Linked DNA regions of Homo sapiens: all the other regions are linked to region 2. Evidence: promoter capture Hi-C in 16 types of primary human blood cells and fetal thymus (Javierre and others, 2016). All regions are on one chromosome and are shown on one strand. Each heading gives the region's core, a stretch centred on a gene start or on the middle of the fragment in contact. The rest is flanking DNA. Distances are from core to core; before and after follow the strand shown.

Region 1 (4,247 bases), core at 706-3,205, 520 kb before region 2:
CAGGGCCTCCCCTGGCATGACCAGAACATTCTCTTGTCCCTTGCCCATCTGCCAACCACTTCCCCGCCCCTCCTATCCCCACCCCCTCTCACGGCCTGTTCCCTGGCAGCTGCCCCTCCTGGCCACCCCTTTCTGCTGAAGTGGCTGCTCAGAAGCCACCAGCACTCTGTCGGTGCTCTCAGATTCCACCCACCACACTGTGGCCGGTGCAGACCCCTCTGGAGGCCCACTCTGCGCCCAGCCCAGGAGACAAAGCCTAGTGGGGCTCGTCCACGAGGGACTCAGGTCCCCAAGAACGTGGCTGTCCAGGCTGCCGGGAGCCTCCTCTGCACTTCTCCTTCTGCCTGTGAATGGAACAAAGTCATTCACAGCTTGGCAAACGCCCCTGTGTGACACTCCACTGACACAGAGTGACACAATTCCTGTGCTTGGCCCTCACAAGCTAGAGAGAGAGGCTGCCATTGAAGGGATGGCATGCATTAAGGAGCTAGTCCCAGGGGCAGGATCTGCCAGGGCCCTGTAGGGGCTGTGGGCTGATAACAGGGTCTGAGCTGGGTGTGTGGATGGTGTGGAGTTTGGAGGCAGCCCAGGGAGGGCTTCTCTGAGGACACAAGGCCTGCAGGACAAAGATGGGAGAGGGCCAGGCCAGGAGCAGCCCTGCAAGGTGCAGGAAAGAGGAGTGGGGAGCCCAGCAGGGCCGGAGCCTGCCAGAGCTGCCCCCGAGTGGGGACAGGACCTGGGGACTCTGTGTGGGGCCTCGTCCGACGCCCCTGACGCTACCCCTTCAGGCTTGGAGTGTGGCCAACTGCAGTTTCGTTGAGCTCAACATGTAGTTCTTGAGTGGTCCGAGCTGCAGGGGCAGGTGGACTCTGTAACCCCACCACACACCCGTCTCGCTTGGCCCCCGCGTGCTCGCCGCAGCAGCCTGTGGGTGCACTCACACGCGTGCACCGCATTTCTGAAAGAGGCTGTGAGGTCCTGTGTCTGGGTGGGAAACAAGAGACTTGGAGGCTGGAAATTGGGTGTGGGGCGTCAGTCTTCAGACCTGAAGCAGCCTTCTGAGATCCCTTGGTGCTCTGTGCACTGGGGTCCTGGCTTCTGCTCAGCAGCCCGTCCTCGTGTGGCTGCGAGGTCACCCCCAGCTGTTGCTAGCTGACCCATGTGGGGCATCCACTTCCAGGAACCTGCAGGAATGGGCTCCCCCAACCCCTCGTGAGGTTGGAGCAGCCAGACTGTCAGGCGTCAATGATTTACTCCCTCCACACTGCTGACGTGGGCTCTGGCCTTCCCTGGGGAGGTGAGAGGGGAGTGGTGGCTTTGCCCTAGTAAAGCTGTTTGATTGTCGCTGTTGGAACGGCTTCTGCGCCTGCTGGTAAACAGTGACCTGTGGGTGGAACGCTGCACACCTGGAGCCCTGCCAGAGTTCAGGGAGGGCAGAGGTGATGCCAGTGGGGACGCCCCTTGACCCATCCCTTCTCTGAGTTCATTGAAGCTATCACAGGTCAAGGGGCATAGCGAATCCAAACACGGCTGATAACCCCAAGCCCAAGCTGGCATCAGTGGCCACGTTCTGTACACCCGAGAAACTTGAAGACTTCCTATGTCAAACTGGGAACCCCACCTGCTTGCCGGCCTGTCCCAAAGTCCCTCCTGAGCCCGGCTCCTTGCAGGCACAGCAGGGAGGGCAGAGATCTGGGGCCAGGCAGCTGAGAGAAGCTCCCTGCCCGGTGACCACACGGGTCCCAGCAGTCGAGAGTGTCAGTGGAGTGATGCCCATGGCTTCTTGGTTACTGCAGTGGCGTCTGTGCCCTTGGCCTGGACCTCCTTCCTGAATGGGTGCTACACGTTCACAAGTTTCTAAGCCTAAGCTTGACTTCGCTGGTGACAGTGGGGCCCATTGTCTTAGAGAGCAAAGCCTCCTTTCCAGGTGTTTGGCAGGGGGCTGAGGAGTTTCCAAGTCACCAGCAAACTCAGGCACCTGCCTGGATGGGCCAAGGAAGAGGTTCCAGGCAGGGCTGGAGGGTTCAGATTCTGCAGCCCTTGAAGCTTTTGGAGGGCCCTCATTGAGAAAAGTAATACAAGTTACAAAATCATAGTTAGGTGTGAAAGCCGGTGTTTGTTTATTTTTTATTTATTTTTATTTTTTTGAGATGGAGTCTCACTCTGTCGCCCAGACTGGAGTGCAGTGGCGCGATCTCAGCTCACTGCAAGCTCTGCCTCCCGGGTTCACACCATTCTCCTGCCTCAGCCTCCCGAGTAGCTGGGACTACAGGCGCCCGCCACCGTGCCCGGCTGAAAGCTGGTGTTTATTTAAAATAACAAAAGAAATTGCCCCAGCTGACTGGGCGCGGTGGCTCACACCTGTAATCCCAGCACTTTGGGAGGCTGAGGTGGGTGGATCACTTGAGATCGGGAGTTCAAGACCAGCCATGGACAACATGGTGAAACCCTGTCTCTACTAAAAATACAAAAAAAAAATTAGCCAGATGTGGTGGCAGATGCCTGTGGTCCCAGCTACTGGGGAGGCTGAGGCATGAGAATCGCTTGAACCCAGGAGGTGGAGGTTGCAGTGAGCCGAGATCTCGCCACTGCACTCCAGCCTGAGTGACAGAGTGAGACCCTGTCTCAAACAAACAAAAAAAACTGATGCCACTACATACCTGTTAGAATGGCTGCTGACGTACAACACATTGACTGCGGGGTGAGTGCTGGAGCCCCAGAGTTGGAAAGTGGTCCACTCGCAGGTTGGTAAGAAAACTTTACTGGCGACAGTATAGGTTTGAAAAAGGAACGTTTGGCCAGACATGGTGGCTCAGGCCTGTAATTCCAACACTTTGGGAGGCCAAGGCGGGTGGTTCACTTGCCTTGCTAACATGGCGAAACCCCGTCTCTACTAAAAATAAAAAATTAGCTAGGTGTGGTGGTGCATGCCTGTAATCCCGGCTACTCGGGAGGCTAAGGCAGGAGAATTGCTTGAGCCGGGTGGGTGGAGGTTGCAGTGAGTCGAGATGGCATCACTGTACTCCAGCCTGGGCAACAGAGTGAGACTCTGCCTCAAAAAAAAAAAAAAAAAAAAAAAAAAAGGAAGAAAGGAGAAGAAAAAGAAAAAAGAAAGAAATTGGCCAGGCTGGTTTTGAACTCCTGGGCTCAAATGATCTTCCTGCATCAGCCTCCCAAAATTCTGGGATTACAGGTGTGAGCCATAAAAACCACTGCAAAAGCACATATGGAGTGTTTTGCTTGAGAGAAGAGGACACCAAGAGAGTTTAGTCTTGTCTTTGGCTGATTTCGCCTGTGGTGCCCACACATGCCCCCAGCAGGGACAGCAGGGCCCATATCCACGCCTACCACTCTGCAGCATTCCTGGAAGTTTCTGGAAGCTGTTCCCCCACATGAGTCAGCAGCAGCTGGAGGTGACCTTGCACAACGTGAGCATGTCCCACAAAACCAAACCAGATATGCCCCCTCCACCTTTCCCATAAGGCACCCCAGCTTCACCCGCCGTGATGAGTGGAGAGTGACTTTTTGTTTCCTGTGGCCACTGTGCCGGGCGGCTGAACATCACAGAAGTTCGTTCTGGGTTCTGGAGGCCGAGGCCTGAGAGGGGTTTCCCCGGGCTGAGCCAAGGTGCTGCAGGGCACCGCTCCGTCCTGACGCTCTGCGGGAGGAGCCACCCCTGCCACCTCCAGTGTCTGGTGGCTGCTGCAATCCTTGGCTTGTGGCCGCATCACTCCAGTCATCCAGGCCAGCATCTCCAAGGGCCGCTCTGCCCTGTCGTCATATGGCCTTCCCCTCCCCGTGCCCTGTGGCCTTCCACCTGTGAGGAAACACGAGAGGGCGTTTAGGGCCCACCTGGATTGTCCAGGGCCACCTCCCGCCCCATGACCCCTAATATCACATCCGTAAAGACACTTCCATATGAAGTGACACCCACAGGTACCGGGGATTGGGATGTGGACATCTTTTTAATTTTTATGTATTTATTTAATTTTTTGAGACAGTCTCATTCTGTCACCCAGGCTGGAGTGCAGTGGTGCGATCTTGGCTCACTGCAACCTCCGCCTGCCAGATTCAAGTGATTCTCCCGCCTCAACCTCCCAAGTAGCTGGGATTACAGGCACCTGCCATCATGACCAGTTAATTTTTGTATTATTCGTAAAGACAGGGTTTCACCATGTTGACCAGGCTGGTCTTGAATTCCAGACCTCAAGCAATCTGACACCTCGGCCACCCAAAGTGCTGGGATT
Region 2 (4,232 bases), core at 1,393-3,892:
CCGTGAGATGGCAAGAGGCAGAGCTGCTGTTACGGCATCCCTGGGCCTGCCGCCCAGTGTGTGCGAAATAGACCATACCCTGTGCGACCTGGACTCCTGTCTTGCAAGCTCTGGGGCTCTTTTCTCCCCTCTCCCTGTCCCCCAGCTTCTGGTGGAACCCCCTATAAAATCTCCCATCACTCTGACCACATAGCTGGGTCCTATCTAGAGAGCCACCCTCTGTCAGCCCCAGCTGGACCACAGGCACCCTGAGGGACACCCAGGAGGTGAAGAAGTGCGTGAGCGATGAACCAACTGTGGCCCCACCTGGCCTGCACCCTCCACCCTCAGCTTCCCAGACTAAAGGGACCTCAAGCGTTGGGAGGCTGACCCTACTCGCTGGCTGTCCCACTCCCTCTTCACACCTGTCTCATTCAGGGAGGCTTCCACCTGCCTGCCCTGCATGCACAGCATGGACTGGGCAACTCTTGGGTTTGGCAACATGGGTGCAGATGACGTCTCAAGCCTCTTCTTGGGACACCAGCCCTGGAGTGGGCTGAGGGAAGGAGGACGGCTGCAAATGGGCAGGACACCACCCTGCGCCCGGCCTGACCCCACCTTGAGCAGGGCTCCAGCCACACAATTTGGGCCCATGGCCCCACAGTACCTGGGTCCTCCCAGGCTGACAGCCAGCTTTCTACTGACCCCCATCCAGAACCTTAGTGTCGTGGGTTGAATGGTGTCCCCCGAAAGATATGCCCAAGTCCCACCCCTGGTACCCGTGACTGTGACTTTGTTTGGAAATAGCATCTTTGCAGGTGTAATTAAGCTCTGGATCTCAGGATATCTCCCTGAGTTTAGAGTGGGCCCTGAATCCAGTGACTGGTGTCCCTGTAAAAAGAGGGAGGACAGAGCAGAGCAAAGGCGCCCTGTGAGGACAGCGGCAGAGGGTGGTGGGACAAGTGGGTTTCAGTCCAGTTGGTGCAACTGTGCTGCAGCAGCCCCAGGGCGCTCCTACCCACAGGCGCTGGGATTCTCATTCCTCCTCCAGAGTTTGCAGCCCCACTCAGCATAGCCCTGGCTCCCTCCCTTCTCCCTGAAGCCCCTCTTCTTCCCCTCTCTGGCCCCTCTCTCAGCCAAAACCAAGCGGTGGGCTCACAGCGGGGGCAACAGGAGGGCTTCCCCACTCCTGCCGCCCACACCCCTCTGAGCCCTTCTCATCTCCCACCTGCGTGCAGGAAGTGAAAACCTACAACAAAGGATGGGGGTGAGGGCAGAGTTTGGGAGGAGCCTGGGTTTCATGAGTGCTCTCCCGGAACCTCTACAGGATCTCGGGCTGCTCCTGGGCACAGCAGGCCTCAGCCAGGGGAGTGGGAGGGCCCACAGAGGGCACCCACAGAGGGAGTGGGTGGGTTCACAGAGGGAGTGGGTGGGCTCACAGAGGGGGTGGGTGGGCTCACAGAGGGGGTGGGTGGGTTCACAGAGGGGGTGGGTGGATTCACAGAGGTGGTAGATGGGCTCACAGAGGGCACCCACAGAGGGAGAGGGTGGGTTCACAGAGGGAGTGGGTGGGCTCACAGAGGGAGTGGGAGGGTTCACAGAGAGCACCTGCAGAGGGAGTGGGTGGGCCCCCAGAGGGCCCCCAGGGTGCCACTGGCTAAGGGTGTCACCGCACCCCAGGTGAACCAGGTTGTATGGGCTCCAGTATCTAGCCGGAGCAGGAAAGAGAAAGAGGAAAATGCAGGCCAGGAGGAGGAAGGCGCTGAGCCCACAAGGCACAGCCCTCGCCCTGCAGTCTCTCTCCAGCTCCCCATCCAAGGCCTGAGCTCGAGGTGGGCCTGGGTGGCTCCCCTCCAGACAGCCATCTGCCGTCCCTTTCCCGGGGCGATGGTGCCGGGTGGGGCTCCCCAGTTCGCCTTGTCACTGGGACCTGGAGAGCTCAGTGCAAGCCCTAGACCGGGCTGGGAGTTGTCGCCGGTCCTGGCGAGTGTGGCCCGGCTGAGCCCGCCCAGGAAGGTCCAGGCCTGCTGGGTGATGACAGTGCAACATCTGCAACCCAAGGGAGCAGATGCCCGGAAGCGGGAGGTGATGCGCAGCTGGGGAGGGGAGGCACTGGCCTTGTACGCAGGACCGGTGGTCGTCATGGTCCCTGGATGTGTGTGTAGACAAAGGGCGGTCTGAGTGGAGGGGGTGAGGGCGGATTGTTGACATTTGCGGGCCTCGGAGCTGCCTGAGAGACGGAGGGACTCGCGCGCCTCCCCGGGGAGGTGGGTCTGGGGGCGCTGGGGGCATGGAAGGGGCGCCGCGCCGGGAGCGGCCCCCACTTACCCCTCGTGTCCCTTGCAGAGGAAGAAGAGCGTGCGCCAGGCGTGCGCGGCGGCCAGCAGCAGAGACAGGAGGCTGGCGAGCAGGCTGAAGCGGCAGGCGGCCGGCGGGCCCCACTCCTGCACCGTGAAGCGCTCGCGCTCCTGCACCGTGAGGTTGGCGCTCAGCCACATGCCCTCGGTGAAGAGCAGGCAGCGGCCGCGGAAGTCGTGGCCGTTCTCGGACAGCGGGACCACCACCACGAAGCTGAACAGGAAGGCCAAGAAGTAGCAGGCGCACTGAGCGAAAAGGAAATTGTTGAGCGCCATGGCCGGCCCGGGCGAGAGCGGCGGCGGGAAGGCCGCGGGAGGCTGCGCCGGGCGGGGAGGCCGCGGGAGGCTGCGCAGTGGCGGCGCCGGCAGGTCCCGCGCGCCCCTCCCGGGACGCGTGCGCATCGGCCGAGCGCGGGAAGCGCCTGCGGTCAGCACCGCGGACAGCTCCTGGTGCGCGCGGGCCAGGAGCCCGGGGTCCAGGGGCCAGAGAAGGGCGGCCTGCGGGAGATGCGGGAATTTTACCAGGTCGGCCTGGAGGGACCGACCCTGTGCCGCTAAAGACTTCGGGAGCCACCTGTACGGGCCTCACACAGGCCGACTCTGGGTCGTCAGTTCCTCATCAGCTCGAACGAAAGGAGACCAGGAGAGAGAGGGCGGGGCGGGGGGTGTTGGAGGACACCCCCAAGGTGCTCATAGTGAGGTGTAGGAGTGCGGTTTGCAGTCCAGGCTGAAGTGATTCCTTTGCGGGGGTCCCGAAATGCAATGTATGAGGGGAGGGGCCAGATCGTGGAGGAGTCGGGGTCCAAGGGACTGGGACAGAGGTCATCCTCGAAGAGATGGGGAGGGTGAGGCCAGGTGTGGGCAGGAGGGGGTGGACCGGGAGCTTCTGCAGCGCCAGCCCTCCGCGGGGACGTGTGTTACACTGCCTGACATGGGCAGGACCCTGGAGCTGCATTTGTAAGATAAATAATGGGTGTCCCGAGCGCCTCATTAAGACATCTTTGCTGAGATGGAAATCGCTGAGGCATTAATTAATAGAATTAATGCCTTTTCTAGTTGCCTTTAAGACTAAGTCACCTTTAGTCCAATTCCCAGAGTGAGGAAGCCTTAACATTGCTCCTCCTGGTTTAAAATTCCATCAGCATTTTTGTTGCAAGCATTAAAAAATATTTTTGTTTTATTGACTAAGTAATATATGCTCATTTCTTAAGTCAAGTAATAGAGATATGTATACAATAAAATAGAAAGCCTTCTCCTCATCCCCCTCCCCTACCCCATCACACTACCAGGGGTGACCACTTCAATAGCCTGGCATCTATTTTTCTAGACATTTTGCTAAGCACATAAGCACACACACAGAATTAACAAAAATGCTTCATACCATACATAGTTTTCTGAAGGCTGATTCTTTTATTCAACAAAATGTCAAGGAGATTATTCCCTGCCTACACATACACCTATTTTGTTCTTTTTAATAACTGCATAAGACTCCATTATAATGATGATTCCACAATCTGCATAACTATTCCTCTTAAGGTGGATGTTTTGTGTCTCCAGTTTTTGCTGTCTCAAATGCTGTCATGTGAACATTCTTGTACACATATGTTTGCGTTCTTGCACAGGCATTTTTATAAGAGAAATTCTTAGAAGAGGAATTGCTGGGTCATGGGGTATGCACATTTAAAATGTTGACAGAAATTGCCAAACCGGCTTTAAAAATGTTGTTCAGCCGGGCGCGGTGGCTCACGCCTGTAATCTCAGCACTTTGGGAGGGCGAGGCGGGTGGATCACGAGGTCAGGAGATCGAGACCATCCTGGCTAACATGGTGAAACCCCGTCTCTACTAAAAATACAAAAAAATCAGCCGGGTGTGGTGGCGGGTGCCTGTAGTCCCAG
Region 3 (4,282 bases), core at 392-2,891, 660 kb before region 2:
CTCAAATACCAACTGATTTTTTCCTTCAACCTGAGGGTCAATGTGAACATCTTCCTTGGCCCTTCTTTTCCTTTGAACTCTGATTTTATTTATCTTCACTGTTAAACTTATAGAAAGACTGGTTTGGTCTGTGTTTCTGTTCTCTCTCCACCCCGCCCCCCACCCTTTTTTTTTTGAGATGGAGTCTTGCTCTGTCGCCCAGGCTGGAGTGCAGTGGCGTGATCTTGGCTCACTGCAACCTCTGCCTCCTGAGTTCAAGTGATTCTTGTGCCTCAGCCTCCCTCGTAGCTGGGATTACAGGCGTGCACCACCACACTCAGCTAATTTTTGTATTTTTAGTAGAGATGGGGTTTTGCCATGTTGGCCAGCTGGTCTTGAACTCCTGACTTCAAGTGATCTGTTCGTCTTGGCCTCCCAAAGTGCTGGGATTACAGGCGTGAGCCACCGTGCCCGGCTTCTTTTCCCTTTTTCCTAATGCTTTCCAATTAGATCCTGCTGTGTCCTCTACTGTAATTGCTGGCTTTCAGTCACTTAACAGATATCTATTGACTGTCTGCCAGGGCCTGAATAGTTAGGGGCTGGGGTGTAGCAGTGAACAAGAAAGACCTAGTTCCTACTCCCAAGGAGCCAGCCTCCAAATGTGAAGACAAATATAAGTACACAAATCAGTAAGGTAATTATAGATGGTCATAATCTATTAATATACTTGGAACACTTCTCCCACTTAGAACTGGAGGTCAGAGAAGACCTTTTTGGGTAGGAGGTATCCTTTTAACAGAGATTTAGAGATCAATGAGCTAGCCACTGGAAGAGCTTCTTGAAGGCAATCTTCCTTCTCCACTTACTTGTTTGACACCTTTCTTGCCATTGAAACCATTACCAAAGACCTTTTCAGAACTTTTCTTACCACCTTAACTCACATTGAGTATACCTTCCTTTGAAGTTAATTGTGTAAACCAATTTTTCTAGTACTTAGTGTGTGCTACTTGCCTTACAGATTTTATTTTGTCCTGTCTCCTGAGATTATCAGATTGAAGTAGAGACCCAAATAATTCTCTGATTACAGTATTTCTTCTACTGCTGTGTAGATAGAGAACATAAATATTTGTAAGCAAAGGTAAGGAAGTATCTTGGATTGTATTTATCTTACATTATAATGAGTTGAAAAAATGAATTGTTTCTGATGAATTGCAAACTTCCTAGGATATTTTGTGTGGACGACATAAAGCTTAAGCTGTTAGGTCCTTTGCTTTTTGGTCATTGTCATAGTTTTCTAGTTTACACCTTGTTAGCTAAGTATTAAATTTTATAAGACTTAAAATGAAATAGGACCGTATCATGCATAATATATGTGTGTCTATGTAAAATTTTAAGATCTGTAAGGAAGTACATAAAAAGAAAAGTTTAGAAAGACAAAATTTTGGAACCTTGAAAAGCAAGCTAAGGAGCCAGACATAACTTTTTATATATTACAATCAGGGCTGCTTTATATAGTATTCAACAGCACTTGATTGCAATCAAAGAAGGATTTTTCATTGTGGGAAGACTCATATCTTTCTGTTTTTTTTTTTCTTTTTTTGAGACAAGGTATTGCTCACCTAGGCTAGAGTACAGTGGCATGGTCATAGCTCACTGCAGCCTCAGCCTCCTGGGCTCAAGAGATTCTCCCACCTCAGCCTCTCAAGTAGCTGGGACTATAGGCACGTGCCACCATGCCTGACTAATTTTTAAATGTTTGGTGGAGACTGGGTCTCACTCACCATGTTGCCCAGGCTGGTCCTGAACTCCTGGGTACAAGCAATCCTCCCACCTCAGCCTCCCAGTGTGCTGGGATTATAGGCATGAGCCACTGTGCCCAACCTGTTTTTAATTCATTTTGCTACTGAATTAAAAGTTCTGGGTTATTGATTCATTTTTCTTAAGGTAAAAAGTACATTTCTGTGGAGTTGTTCATATTAAAAACTCTCAACAAACTAGAAATAGAAGGAAACTACTAGCATAATAAAAGCCATATGTGAAAAGCCCACAGCTAACATCATACTCAATGGAAGATTGAAAGCTTTTCCTCTAAGATCAGGAACAAGGTGAGGTTGCCGCCTTTCACCACTTTTACTTAACTTAGTACTAGAATTTCTAGCCAGAGCAATCAAGGAAGATTAAGAAATAAAATGCATCCAAATTACAAAGGAAGAAGTAACATTATCTCTGTTTGCAGATGATATAATTTTATATGTAGAAACCCCTAAAGATTCCACAAAAACCTGTCAGAACTAATAATTGAATTCAGCAAAGTAGCAGTCTACAAAGTTAACACACAAAATTCAGTCTCATTTCTATACCCTAACAATGAACAATCTAAAAAGGAAATTACAAAACTATTCTATTGGTAATAGCATCAAAAAGAATAAAATACTCAGGGATTAACCAAAGAAGTGAAAGTCTGGACAATGAGAAGTGCAAAACATTGCTGAAAGAAATTAAAAACATAAGTAAATGGAAATACATCCTCTATTCATGGATTGGAAGACAATATTGTTAAAATGTCAGTACTACACGATGTGATCTACAGATTCAATGCAATCTCTGCCAAAATCCTAATGACTTTTTTTTCATAAATGGAAAAATCCATCCTGAAATTCATATGGAATGTCAAGGAACCCTGAATAGTCAAAACAATCTTGAAAAAGAAGTACAAAGCTGGAAGACTCACATTTCCTGATTTTTAAATTACTACAAAGCTACAATCATCAAAACAGTATGGTATTGGCATAAAGACGCATAGACCAATGGAGTAGAGAGCCCAGAAATAAACCCTCACATACATGGTCAATAATTTTCAGTAAGGGTGCCAACACCAATTAAGGGGAAAAGGACAGTTTGTTTTTTTTGTTTGTTTGTTTGTTTTGTTTTTTTTGTTTTTTTGTTTTTTTTTGTTTTTTTAGATGGAGTCTCTCTCTGTCGCCCAGGCTGAAGTGCAGTGGCGATTTCTACTCACTGCAAGCTCTGTCCCCCAGGTTCATGCCATTCTCCTGCCTTAGCCTCCCGAGTAGCTGGGACTACAGGCGCCCGCCACCACGCCCGGCTAATTTTTTTGTATTTTTAGTAGAGATGGGGTTTCACCGTGTTTGCCAGATGGTCTGGATCTCCTGACCTCGTGATCCACCCGCCTTGGCCTCCCAAAGTGCTGGGATTACAGGCATGAGCCACCGTGCCTGGCCAGGACAGTCTTTTCAGCAAATGATGCTGAGAATAGTGGAAATCCACAGGCAAAAAAATGAAATTGGATTACTACTTTACACCATATACAAAAATTAAGTTGAAATGGATTAAAGCTCAAAAGTAAGACCTAAAACTGCAAAACCCTTAGGGGAAAACTGAGGGCACAAACTTCACATCGTATGTGGCAATAATTTCTTGGATATGACACCAAAGGCACAGGCAACAAAAGAAGAAAGACAAATTGGACTTGAAAGATTTGTATATCAAAAAACTGAACAGTAAAAAGGCAGCTCACAAGATGGAGAAATATTTGCAAATCATGTATCTGAAAAGGGATTAATACATAGAATGTATAGAGATTTCCCAAAATGCAACAAGAAAAAAACAGATTTTTATTTTTTTAAGAGGGAGGGTCTCACTCTGTTGCCTAGGCTGGAGTGCAGTGGTGCAATCATAGCTCACTGCAGTCTCGACCTCCTAGGCTTAAGGGATCCTTCTGCCTCAGCCTTCCAAGTAGTTGGGACTATAGGTGTGCAGCAGCGTGCCTGCTATTTTTTTTTTTTATTTTTTGTAGAGACAGGGTCTTACTATGTTGCTCAGGCTGGTCTTGAACTCCTGGTTTCAAGTGATCCTCCCACCTTCACCTCCCAAAGTGCTGGGAGTATAGGCATGAGTCATTGCACCCGGCAAAAAAGTTGATTCAAAATTGGCAAAACAGGAGTTGGTGAGGATGTGGAGAAATTGGAACCCCTGTGTACTGTTGGTGAGAATGTAAAATGGTGGGGCTGCTGTGGAAAACAGTATGGTGGATCTTCAAAAAATTAAAAATAGAATTACTATATGATCCAGCAATTTCACTTTTGGGTATATACCCAGAAAAGTTTAAAGGAAGACCTTGAAGAGATGTTTGTACACCTGTGTTCATAACATCATTATTCACAATAGCTAAAACGTGGAAGCAACCTGAGTGTCCATATCCATAGAAAGGAGTATTACTCAGCCTTGAAAAGGAAGAAAATTCTGACATACGCTCTGACATAGATGAACCTTGAGGACATTATGC
Region 4 (3,953 bases), core at 207-2,706, 540 kb before region 2:
AGCCACTGCGTCCGGCCAAACCGATACTTTTATGAATGTAAATTCACAAATCCTTAGCAAAATGCTAGCAACCAAATCCAACAGCACATTAGAAGGATTATACACCACAGCCACGTGGTGTGTGCTGCCCTAAAGTCTGTACGCCGTCACTCCAGTGGGGGACAGAATCCTGCCTCTCGTCTTTTGATGTCCATCTTTAGAAACCCTTCCCTGCCAGGAGACAAGGGAGTATGTGGAGGTCTGGGTGCTGGGACTTCCTGAAGTGTCCAGAACCACTAAGATGTTTGATTTCTTTATTTGGCCGGATGCTTTTTCTTGGTGGTGGTAATAACTTAGCAGTGAAGTTGTGGAAGAGTGAGTACCACAGCTTTCTTTAGAGATTAATACTAGCCAGTGAGAAGAACTCAGTGGTGCAGAACCTGGTATTTTTGAAGCCAGATCCTTCACACTGTTTTCCTTCTTAAAAAAAAAAAAACAGCTTTATTGAGATATAATTCATATACCATATAATTCACCTATTTAAAAGTGTCCTGTCCAGTGATTTTAGTATGTTCACAGTGTTCTGCAGCCATCTCCACAATCAACGTTAGAGCATTTTCATCACTCGAGAAAGAATCTCTGGAACCATTTGAGGTCATCCCAGTTTCTCCCTACTCCACGCTTTCCCCGCCCCAGCCTCACCCTTGTCCCCAGGCAATCACTTATCTGCTTTGTCTTTGTATTTTGCCTGTTCTGTCTCTATATACATGCCTGTTCTGGACGTCCCGCCCCTTGTAATTATATATTATCTGTTGACCAACATCTTTCCCCGTTGGACTCCCTGCAACCGCCCAAGCTCTGGTAACCGCCATTCTACTCTGTCTGCCTATGAGATCAGCTGTTGTAGGTTCCGCATGTGAGTGAGATCATGCAGGATTTGTCTCTCTGTGCCTATTTCATCCAACTTAATGTTCTCCACATTCATCCATGGTGTCACAAATGACAAGATTTCCTTCTTTTTATGTATGCTTATTGTTTTTCTGTAGAGTGAACCCCATCTCCTGCCAGGCACTGACTGGCAGGTTTAGTGTTTTTGTTGGTTTTGTTTTGCCAAGGGAGTGGGAGGCAGGTGGTCCACTGGGCCTCAGCTTGTCTCCTTGTCTTCAGCTCTGCTGAAGGGCACTTCACCACCTTGTCCTCGGTACTTGGTGCAACCCTCTTATGGCTTACCCAGGAGGTAGATACAGCCCCGTCGTTGATATCATTCCTAGTAAACGCAGTTGGTAGAAAACACAAAATACAGCAGACAATGATAACATGTATTATAGAAAGCTGAAGAATTACATTTAATGGTGACATTGAAAACGGTTAGAATTTATCTGGGGAAAAGTAAGCTTGACAGGAATAATCCTAAAACCACAGCCAGTGACAGTGGTTACTGTCTAAAAATGGAGAGAACAGCCATCTTTGTAAAATTTGACCCAGGAAAATAATGGCTCCCAAAGATAATCCGTACACAGATGCTCTCACCAAAAAACACATAGGCAGAACTTGCCTCCCCAAAGCTTGTCTGGAAGATAATTAACCTGATGAAAAATCTTTTAGGAAATTTTAAAAAGAAAATATAAAAAGTAGAAACTACTTTGTTTAGAAAATTGAGCAAAGAAGTATACTGACTTGGTGAAATTCATTTAAGAAAATACTTTTTCAGTGAAAATTCATCATTCGTATAATGCTGATTAATATGTTTTAAACTTAAGTGGGCGGATCACCTGAGGCCAGGAGTTCAAGACCAGCCTGACCAACATGGAGAAACCCTGTCTCTATTAAAAATACAAAATTAGCCGGGTGTGGTGGCACATACCTGTAATCCCAGCTACTTGGGAGGCTGAGACAGGAGAATCGCTTGAACCTGGGAGGCAGAGCTTGTGGTGAGCCGAGATTACACGCCATTGCACTCCAGCCTGAGCAACAAGAGTGAAACTCCATCTCAAAAAAAAAAAAAAAAAAAAGAGAAAAAATGTTTTAAACTCACACTTTGTCAGAAATGGCAGGTGTATTAGTCTGTTCTCGCACTGCTATAAAGAACTACCTGAGACTGGGTAATTAAGAAAAGAGGTTTAATTGACTCAATTCTGCCAGCTGCACAGAAAGCATGGCTGGGGAGGCCTCAGGAAACTTACAGTCATGGTAGAAGGGCAAAGGGGATGCAAGCACCTTCTTCACATGGAGGAGCAGGAGAGAGAGAGTGAAGGGGGAGGTGCTACACACTTTTAAACAACCAGATCTTATAAGAACTCACTATCACAAGAACAGCAAGGGGGAAATCTGCCCCCATGATCCAATCACTTCCCATCAGGTCCCTCTCCCAACACTGGGGATTACAATTCAACATGAGATTTGGATGGGGACACAGAGCCAAACCATATCATTCTGCCCCTGGCCCCTCTCACATCCCATGTCCTTCTCACATTTCAAAACCAATTATGCCTTCCCAAAAGTCCTTCAAAGTCTTAACTCATTCCAACTTTAACTCAAAAGTCCAAGTCCAAAATCTCATCTGAGACAAGGCGAATCTCTTCCACCTATGAGCCTGTAAAATAAAAAACAAGTTAGTTGCTTCCAAGATGCAATGTGAGTACAGGGATTGGTTAAATGCTCCCATTCCAAAAGGGAGAAATTGGCCAAAACAGGGGCTACAGGCTCTATGCAGGTCTGAAACCCAGCAGGTCAGTCATTAAATTCCTAAAGCTCCAAAATGATTGATTCTTTTTACTCCATGTCTCACATGCAGGCCATACTGATGCAAAGGGTGGGTTCCCAAGGCCTTGGGCCGCTCTGCCTCTGTGGCTCTGCAGGGTACAGCACCTGCAGCTGCTTTCACAGCCTGGCATTGAGTGCCTGTCGCTTGTCCAGGCACATGGTGCAAACTGTTGGTGGATCTACCATTCTGGGTTCTGGCAGATGGGGACACTCTTCTCACAGCTCCACTAGGGCAGTGCCCCAGTGGGGACCGCGTCTGGAGGCTCCAACCCCACATTTCCCCTTTGCACTGCCCTAGTAGGTTCTCCGTGAGGGCTTCACCCCTGCAGCACACCTCTACCTAGACATGCAGGCATTTGCATACATCCTCTGAAATCTAGACAGAAGATCCCAAACCTCAATTCTTGACTTCTGTGCACCTACAGGCTGCATGGGAGCCCAGGCTGACTTCTGCCTGGACATCCAGGTGTTCCCATACATTCTCTGAAATCTAAGTGGAGGCTCCCAACCCTCAACTCTTGTCTTCTGCGTACCCACATGCCCAACACCACGTGGAACCCACCAAAGCTTGGGGCTTGCACCCTCTGAAGCAATGGCCAGAGCTGTACCTTGGCCCCTTTTAGCCATGGCTGGAGCTGAGAGTGTCGGGGACACAGGGTGCCATGGCCTGAGGCTGCACAGAGCAGTGGGGCCCTGGATCTGGCCCACAAAACCATTTTTCCCTCCTAGTCCTCCAGGCCTGTGATGGGGGGTGCGGCAGTGAAGGTCTCTGAAGTGCCCTGGAGGCATTTTTCCCATTGTCTTGGCTATTAATTAACATTTGGCTCATCTTATGCAAATTTCTGCAGCCTTGACTTTTTCCCCAGGAAATTTTTTTTGCTGCATAATGAGGCTGCAAAATTTCCAAACTTTTATGCTCTGCTTCCCTTTTAAATGTAAGTTCTAGTTTCAGGTCATTTCTTTGTTTATGAAAATGAGTATAGGCTTTTAGAAGCAGCCAGGCCACATCTTGAATGCTTTGCTGCTTAGAAATTTCTTCCAGATACCCTAAATCATTTCTCTCAAGTTCAAAGTTCCACAGATCTCTAGAGCAGGGACATGATGCCACTGGTCTCTTTGCTAAAGCATAGCAAGAGTGACCTTTACTCCAGTTCTCAGTAAGTTCCTCATCTCCATCTGACACCACCTCAGCCTGGACTTCACTGTCCATA
Region 5 (4,220 bases), core at 966-3,465, 590 kb before region 2:
TGGGGGCAGGCCGTCCTCTCTGGGGTGTGGTGGGGCAGAACATTTTTGTTCTCTAATTGTTTCTATTCTTGTGAGTCCTAAGTGAATTTTCCCCTGGCGTGAATATTAGGCTTGTTTGGCCTTTTCAGGTGTATCTAGGCTTGTTTGGCCTTTTCATGTGTATCTACTTGTCCCTCAGTCTCTTGCCTCCTTTTACAGACCTGGCCTTATAAGGAAGCCTTGAGAGTTTATACGTTCAAGGTCAATGCTGATTTGATCATGTGCTATTTTGAAGGATTTAAGGCACTTACAAGTTTAAGAACATTTTCTTAATTCACAACTTCATTTCATACAAAATAAAATGTTATTGGTTGGCAGCTGAGTGCTGTGGCTTAAGCCAGTGACCCCCCGACCTGGATGCCCAACAGAACTACCTGGAGAGTGCTTATTTTATTTATATTCGTTGAAATTCAGATCTGAAGGCTCTGCGAGATCTGAGCTAGAAAGTATGCCCTAGAAATCAGCATTCAAGTAGTGTGTACTTTGGGCATATCTAATGATCAGCCACAGGCCCTGACCATTGAATCAGCGTTTGCAACCCAGTTGTTTAAAGCCCAGCAGCAGGGAGACTCACACTGGAAGAAAGCTGAGACTGGACTGTTTTGGATCACTTGGTTCCAGTATGTGCCTGTATCTGATAAGGCGGGGTGAGAAGCGCTTGAAGTTCCTTCGTGTCATATCGTAAGGGCTCAGTCATTGCCAGATTTTATCCTGGTTATTGTTACACCACCACTGTTAGTCCTGAAGAAATAAATAGCTCATAAGGAAAGGGCGCAGATGACTTGAGATTACAACTGGAGGTCTTTGATGAGCACCAAAAGGAGCTGGTGCTCTGGAGATGAGAGAGGCAGCTGAGATACACTTGATACCCGTGGAAGGGACTTTAAAAGGAAGTCATTAGTTTTTTATAGCTACTGAGGATCATTTGATTGGCACCTCTGCTCCTGCTGGCCATCAGGTTTGACTAAGCTCTTTGCTTGGCTTCCTCTCTCACCCCTCTGCCCCTTCGTGGTTTTCTTCCCTCAGCTGTGCGCAAGAGGAAGGGTTCTATAGGTCTCTTCCTCAGACGTCTAGTAGCTATGCCTGCATCCCTCGACCACAGAGAGCCTAGTCTGGGGGCCCAAAATTACCTAGTGTGTACATCATAAAAGCTCAATAATAGCTGGCTTTACTTAGCACTTGAGAGGCTGTGTGTTAGGTACTTTTCATTCTTCTCTGAGCCTCACTCCACCCTTTGAGTTGGGGATTTCTCATGTCATTCTTATTTCATGATGTGGCAGTTGGGTCTCAGGGTAACTCTGTAACTTGCCTAAGGAGACACGCGGATTCAGGGAGTGAGGAGACAGGATCTAACTGGATCTGAGCCCCAGCCCATGCCTTCACTTACATGCCTTCTGTCACGGAGCCCCGTGCAGAGCTGCGCTGGCACAGGAGTTGTCCTGGTCCAGAAGAAAGTATGGAGTGCTTTGCAGAAACCCAGCATGGTACCTTGAGAGTTTATACATTAAAAGTCACTGCCAATTTGATCATGTGCTATTTGGTCTTTCCACTGTGGTGATGAGGAAATACATATTCCTCTCATTAGTTAGACATTTTCCTTTAAAGTTTACATTCCCATTATTCCTTATGTAGAAATATGTTTTGAAAAGAAGTATTTAGTAAGCTTGATTATTTTAAGGGAAAACAGAAGTAAACAAATCTTAATTTTGCTGTATTAGACTTACACCATTTTAACAGGGTTAGAATTAGCCTTTATTTAACATATTTATTATAGAACTTAGTTAGAATTTAAAAGTCTTTAAATGCACTGATCTGTAGAGTTTATATATTATGGTTAAAGATAGTAAACTATGTTTTTAGAAACTAAAACAGTGTGCAGCAGCTTTGAGCTTGTGAATGTTGAAACTATTTTGTTAGCTCTAGTAATCTGCTCTGATTTTGTGTTATATTTTACAGTTGAAACACATTCCTCCCTATGGATTTCTTTACTATAAACAACTACAGTCTCTCTTTAGACAGTGTGGTCAAGTCAAATCCATTGTATTTGATGGTGCAAAGTAAGTATATTTTTGTAATCAACTGCAATTATGAAGGAGGCATAATGATTCAAATGTTTCCAGACGCTGATTGTTAAAACGGAGTGCCCATGGAAATGGGTCCTCCTATGGGCTGCTGCAATTGGCTTTCAGAATGTAGCTTTGGTTTATCTTATGGTCAGAAGCAATTTGTCTTCTCTTTCTGCTAAGTGACCTCCTAAAGGAACTAAGCTGCTGGTTAGTGGTCAAGCATGGTCACTCCAAGAAGGCTCAGTAACTCAGTGTGATGCTAAGGCGGATTCTCTTAAAGTGATCTTCACTTTCACGCACTGGTCTGAGATTTTCTCAGTGAGTCATTAGTAAGAGTTATTTTGTGGGCCATGAAGGTGATCCAAAATAGAGTGTATCTGCTTATAGTTGTCTAAAGCAGATATGTTTTGAATATTTTTGGAAGGCAAACATTGTAAAAACTCAATTTGGCTCTACTTACTGCATGTAAGGAACAAATGTGTGTTTTGGAGCATCACTGAGTTTTTATTTCTAACAGGAAATGTTTATGTACCAAAAAGCCTAAAGTAGGATTTTTAATTTTTAAAGTTAGAAATTTTTTCCAGTGTTCTGTGAATGTTGTATAAATTTTTATTTAACTTTACAAAGCTTTGTAAATAAGAACAAACACTTTTTCTTTAATGTCCAGTTCACTCAAGTTGAACATTAAGTCCATTTTCAATTTGGGGTAATTCCCTCCGGCATTTTAAGTTCCATTTCTATGATTAATATATTGATTTTCTTTGTAGGCCTGTAAATGCTTCATGAGGCAAACACACAACTCCCTAATAAGCAAAACCTTCCTAAGTGCTTTGAACAACTCTTAGAGAATTAATTAAACTTGTAGTGTCTGAACTTTTCTTAAATATTCTGATGTAAATTATAGTAAGATTCTTAGTCACATATATAAAGTAACTTACTTAAAGCTGGAATCACACAGCTAAACTCATTCCTGAATAGTGTGCGTCTGCTTACCTGGGTGAGCTTCCAGTTCTGCATGGATGCTCCTTTGACTGATTTGAGTGGTCAGAAGGCTTGGCTCCCAGAAGATTGCAGCATCTTTGTTCCCTCTTCTTTACAACTGGATTGGGTTCTGTGTTTGTTGCCTGTTCTTCTTGCCTGGGACTTTTTTTTGTTTTATTATTTTTATTTATTTATTTTTGAGACAGAGTCTTGCTCTGTCATCAGGCTGGAGTGCAGTGGCACAATCTCGGCTCACTGCAACCTCCGCCTCCCATTGCCTGGGACCTTTTTTATAGGTGTTTATATCTTTTGCATTCCTCATATTTCCAGCTCTCAAGTCATAATACAAATGTCATACCAATTTTTTGGGGGAAGTAACAGTATTCTTTCTGTACCAGTACCAGTTCTTGGGATTCAAGTATTTAAAGGCAAAGGAAGTTACAGTGATTGAAAGAATAAGAAGTGTATTTCTTTTGGCATAGAGCAGGGGTGACTTCATGTAGACTCTGTGAGGTGCCAAGGGCGCATGGGCAGATGGGCACAGGTGGTACCTGGGCATATCATGTTCTCCCATAAGAAGCTTTCAACTTCGTGGTAGGAGTGGAGAGTCAAATTAGTTTCACAGACATTTGCCTGCTGTGAGATGTCATGGGAAAGGCCTAGAAGGTCAGAAGAAGACATTCTATCTGAGGCCCAATATTAGAGCAGTAACATTAATTTGAGACTTCCTCGGGTAGACGTCGGAGGGTTGTGAGGCCTCGGGCTGGTGCAGTGGCCAGTGCAGAGGTGGTGCAGTAGGGTCAGGTGGTTTTCCAGCAGGAGGCAGTCATTAGCTGATCTTGACAGGGGAAAGCTGAGACTGTGCACACATAGCTGGTAGCCGTTTGGGCAGAGCTGCTCCGTGTCAGATGGAGTCTGTTTTGTGGAGGTCAGGTGCTGACTTTGAGACAGTCTTCTGGCAGACTGATGAGTGTGAACATGACTAGGTGGGCACTTGGAGACCTTTGAGTGGTCTGTCCGGAACTGTGTTTTATGGAACTTACTCAGGGATAAGCGGAAGGTCAAGGTAAGAGGAGTAGAAGCCGGCCTGGAGTCTTTGCAGTAGTCCAAAGCAGAGGTACTGAGATGTGCAGC
Region 6 (4,242 bases), core at 1,655-4,154, 560 kb before region 2:
TGAGTAACAACTGTTTTTGAGAAACTTTGAAAGATGACAGCTGTTTGATTTGGGATGAGCATTCTCCTTTCCTTTCACTTTAAATATGCAGTCTTCTGCAGCGAGCAGGAGGGGGGTCTTCAGTACAGAACTGGCCCAGGGGTCCCAGCACTGTGTCTTAGGTGTGTTCCGGAGGGGAGCTGTCCTCCAAAGCCCACAGCTCCTGCGAGCCGCTGCCCCGCCATGCGCCCATGCCCGTTTGCTTCCTTTTGTGAGCCACCTCTCTAATGCGCACCCGCATGGGACTCGTCTCCTGTTCGGGTGGCGTCTGGCTGCTGCACTAGAGGCTGTCCTGGCCCCCCTTGTTAAACGCGAAGCTTGCAGTCTCTGGGTAAAGTCTGTTCTCCCTCCACATGTGTCACTGTCCTGTCACAACTGATTCAACTTTACGACTAAGTGATAATTTTTTACCACCTCTAACATACTCTTTGTACAATAGTGGCAGGAAAGGAAGATGAGCAGAAAACTTAATTTTATCTTGATTTTCAATTTAAAAAGGGGAAGGAGATATGTGTTATGCCCCATTCATAAGCAGAGACATCTAAGTGGAGGCCACTGTCCCCTTCTTTGCCAACTGGCTGTGGACTGACCTAGCTGCCATTTGTCTCCTCTCCTTTGTTCTTTCTGCCATGTGACCTTCACTTGTAGTTGGCCCCTCCATAACTCAGGGTGACTGAGCCTTGGTGCCAGCTTTCCTCTTCCCTTCATCGTGGAGCTGATCCACCACACATCTGTCCCCGGAGTGCGTCACTCCTCTTGCTGCCCCTGTCCTCGAGGTGTTTTCCCTGAACAGTTGGAGTAGTTGATGGTGTCAGCCTGGATTCAGTGGCATCATCATTGTGTACCTTGTGGAGCCCGCCTCCCTGGGTGAGCAGAATGCTCCATGGTAGCAGAGCCTGGCACCTCCAGGATGGGAGCAGACATCTGAGAACACGCTCTTATTGGTGTAGTGACAAGAACACTGTACTCACCTCCTTCCCTTGGTTCTTGGAGCCAGGTTTTGCTACTGGGGAGACTGCCAAATGCTGGCCATGGTTTAGAGGCTAAGTCACGTGTTGAGGGCAGTGCTGTAACCCTGGGAAGATGGTGCTTCTGAACAGGCATGAGAGGGTGGGGGGATCTTTAAACAACAACAACAAGAAGTTCTATCAATTAAAACCTAAAAATTAATATCTACACTTATATGTACCCACAAAAATTAAACAAACAAAAAATTGAATGAGGGTGGATTAAAAGAAGACTCTCACTGTTTAACTGGGTTTTCTGGCTACTGTGGCTAAAAACAAGCTACCCCAAAACTTCAGTGGGCTACAGCAACCTTCTTTGCCTCTGTGGGTGAGGAACTATGTCAGGGTACACAGGGATGGCTTGTTGTGTTCCCAATGTTGGGGCCTCCAGCTGAAGGATTTGGAGGCTGGTGGGTGTCCAGGCTCACATCTGGTGGTTGCTGCTTGCCAGAGACCTCAGTTGCTCTCAGTGAGGACTTCCACAAGTGATCTGTCTGTAGGCTAGTTTGGGTGTCCTCAGCATGGTGGGTTGGTGCTGAGGGTCCTGAGAATGAGCCAGGTGGCAGCTGTCCCTGTTTTTTTGTTTGTTTTTTTGAGTTGGAGTCTCACTCTGTCACCCAGCCTGGAGTGCAGTGGTGCCATCTCAGCTCACTGCAACCTCTGCCTCCAAGTGATCCTCCCACTTCTGCCTCCCAGGTAGCTGAGATTACAGGTGTGCACCACCACACCTGGCTAATTTTTGTATTTTTAGTAGAGAAGGGGTTTCGCCCTGTTGGCCAGGCTTGTCTCAAACTCTTGGCCTCAAGTGATCTGCCCACTTCAGCCTCCCAAAGTGCTGGGATTACAGGCGTGAGCCACCGTGCCCAGTATATTAGTTCATTCTCACACTGCTAATAAAGACATACCCGAGACTGGGTAAATTATAAAGGAAAGAGGTTTAATTGACTCACAGTTCTGCACGACTAGGGAGGCTTCAGGAAACTTACAGTCATGGTGGAAGGGAAAGCAAACACGTTCTTCTTCACATGGTGGCAGCAAGGAGAAGTGCCGAGCAAAAGGGGGAAAAGAAAAGCCCCTTACGAAACCATGAGATTTCATGAGAATTCACTCACCATCACGAGAACAGCATGAGGTTAACCACCCTCATGATTAACTGCCTTCCAGAGGGTCCCTCCCATGACACGTGGGGATTATTTAGGATGAGATTTGGGTGGAGACACAAAGCTTAACCATATCACCTGGCCTGTGTCACCTTTTGTAATCTAGCTGCAGAAGCCACACAGCGTGAGTTTTACTGTAGTCACAGTCACAGCTAGACCACTGTGGCTTCTAGGTCCCACTGTAATTCACAGTGTGGTTGGAAACTACTGAGACGCCTTAGGCAAGGGAGTAACATTGTATTTGTTTTGAAAAGCTACTCCTGTGTGCTATATGGAGAAAAGATTGGAAGAGGCAGGAGTAAGAGATGGGGAATTGGTCGGAAAGTTGTTACCAAGTCCAGGTGAGAAATGGCAGTGGCTTGGACCAGGCTGTTGGCCGCAGCCATGGAGAGGCTATTAGGGAGTGATAAAGGTGACAGGACGTGCCAGTGGTCAGAGGAGGGTGGTGATAAAACTGGGATACAAAACTTTGTAAGTGTGCACCATTGTTTTAGGATGAGAAGGTGGAACATTTTTTTAGGCTTTTACTAAGTGCTAGACTTGTTTGACAGGTCATAAATATGTACATAGCCCTTTCTCCAGAAATCTCCCTAATAAGAATTTAACCCATGGAAAGAATTCGAAGGCAAGGGAAAAAAAAACCCATTCATGATAAAATATTCTTTTCATTATCTTATCTACCACATTAGAAACTTAATAAAGTATTAATACAAATTATTAAGTATTAATAAAAATACTGAATTTACTATTCTTATAACTATATTTTATAACTATATTTTGATTGTGAAAACTGGCAGAAAAATGCACAAGTGAAATTAATTGCTGTACTAGGGCTGGCAGAATTTAGGATAATTTTATCGGTCAATTTTTACATGCTAAAACATATACTTTAACAATTCTGAAATAATGGACTCTTCTGAAAACATTCCATTTAGGATTGATCAGAATGGCAAGTACTATACTGGAGTCCTTTGTGGTTTGGGGTGGAATCCAGCTACAGGGGCTTCCATACTGCCCGAGCACGACATGGAGCTTGCGTTTGACGTTCAATTCAGCGTGGAGGATGTCGTCGAGGTAAGGGTAGTGCAGCATCACGGCACCACAACCCTGTCTCTCTCTGGTTTTGCTTACCTGACAGTGAGTGCAGGGTCTGCTGTGGAGCTCGCGGTGCAGACACACACCTCTGGTCCTGGAGATGTGCACGTTCCTTGTCCCTCCTGGAGTCACCCTCCAGGAGGACCGCTCCTTAACTTGCCAGTTTGATGTATCTTTCCTGTGAAAAGTAACTTCCTGATGGTGCTCTCTGAGTCTCTCATTTGGTGTCTCCTGGCATAAGCTTTTCTGGGCAATCAGCTAAACCACGGGGCTGTAGGGCTGCTGTGGGTCTCATTCCAAGTCAGGAAGTGGAACATCCTTGCTAGTTCTTACTGGGAAAGGAGGACACAAGGTCCTGCCCCTCTGCCCTTCTCCCGGCCTGGTGACCATGCTGAGCAGAGGGCTGGGTCAGCGTGAGTGCAGAGCTGAGCTGCTTGCAGCATTGTCTGGGCACCGCACTAGCTCTGGGGTGAGGTGGCAAGGCAGACAGGGAAACTGTGTAGCAAGTACACAAAGTATTTGTATGTCATTTGAATCTAATAATAGAAATGTGGGCTCGTATTTGTGTACATTAAAAAAGATCTTTCATCGTTATAGTAATTTATTTTTATTGCATTTTACAAAGTGGGAAGACCAAAACTGATCCTTTACCACAAATAGTTTGAGAAATGCTACTTTCTAAGTACTCAGTCGCCTTTCTTTCTTAGAAGTTCCATGAGACGGGTGAGGTTAACATAACCACACTGAAGGGCCGGGGGAAAGGAGGAGCTGCAGAGACAGCTGCCGATGCTCCGGGGGCAGGTATCAGTGTTGTCTCTGCAACTGTTAAGTCATAATTGCCTGGTCACAAGAAGGGGCTTATGGGCTTGAAAATACTCCTTAAGCCATAGACCTAATGGGAAAATGTAAAACTATTAAAGTGCTACAAGCAAATTCAGGAA

What was found. Contacts are between HindIII fragments. The CHiCAGO score rates a contact against its expected background, and 5 or more counts as called.
Region 1: a fragment that was not itself captured here is called in contact with the fragment with the promoter of TMEM179 in region 2 in 12 of 17 cell types (M1 macrophages, non-activated CD4 T cells, naive CD8 T cells and 9 more); the score reaches 12.7 in M1 macrophages.
Region 3: a fragment that was not itself captured here is called in contact with the fragment with the promoter of TMEM179 in region 2 in 1 of 17 cell types (endothelial precursors); the score reaches 5.3 in endothelial precursors.
Region 4: a fragment that was not itself captured here is called in contact with the fragment with the promoter of TMEM179 in region 2 in 10 of 17 cell types (endothelial precursors, naive CD8 T cells, total CD8 T cells and 7 more); the score reaches 10.8 in endothelial precursors.
Region 5: a fragment that was not itself captured here is called in contact with the fragment with the promoter of TMEM179 in region 2 in 5 of 17 cell types (total B cells, total CD4 T cells, activated CD4 T cells and 2 more); the score reaches 7.3 in total B cells.
Region 6: a contact is called between a fragment that was not itself captured here and the fragment with the promoter of TMEM179 in region 2, in 1 of 17 cell types (endothelial precursors). The highest score is 5.3, in endothelial precursors.

The regions. Positions count from the first base shown.
Region 1 is chr14:104,086,892-104,091,138 of GRCh38, forward strand. All of the region lies in intron 1 of ASPG (asparaginase), which reads left to right. Among named protein-coding and RNA genes, the nearest start is that of ASPG, 3.3 kb to the left of the region's middle. The HindIII fragment of the contact is 178 bases long and covers 1,867-2,044 here.
Region 2 is chr14:104,602,130-104,606,361 of GRCh38, forward strand. It overlaps TMEM179 (transmembrane protein 179), which reads right to left and starts at 2,643. Exons shown (of 4, transcript NM_001286389.2): 1 at 2,308-2,643. The coding sequence starts at 2,612. The HindIII fragment of the contact is 15,381 bases long and covers 1-4,232 here.
Region 3 is chr14:103,944,409-103,948,690 of GRCh38, forward strand. The region is part of intron 1 of TDRD9 (tudor domain containing 9); the gene reads left to right. Among named protein-coding and RNA genes, the nearest start is that of RD3L, 4.0 kb to the left of the region's middle. The HindIII fragment of the contact is 831 bases long and covers 1,227-2,057 here.
Region 4 is chr14:104,063,485-104,067,437 of GRCh38, forward strand. No RefSeq gene overlaps it. Among named protein-coding and RNA genes, the nearest start is that of ASPG, 20 kb to the right of the region's middle. The HindIII fragment of the contact is 171 bases long and covers 1,372-1,542 here.
Region 5 is chr14:104,016,097-104,020,316 of GRCh38, forward strand. It overlaps TDRD9 (tudor domain containing 9), which reads left to right. Exons shown (of 36, transcript NM_153046.3): 23 at 1,996-2,096. Among named protein-coding and RNA genes, the nearest start is that of ASPG, 67 kb to the right of the region's middle. RefSeq lists an enhancer at 801-2,000. The HindIII fragment of the contact is 1,030 bases long and covers 1,701-2,730 here.
Region 6 is chr14:104,037,055-104,041,296 of GRCh38, forward strand. It overlaps TDRD9 (tudor domain containing 9), which reads left to right. Exons shown (of 36, transcript NM_153046.3): 33 at 3,142-3,280. Among named protein-coding and RNA genes, the nearest start is that of ASPG, 47 kb to the right of the region's middle. The HindIII fragment of the contact is 1,272 bases long and covers 2,269-3,540 here.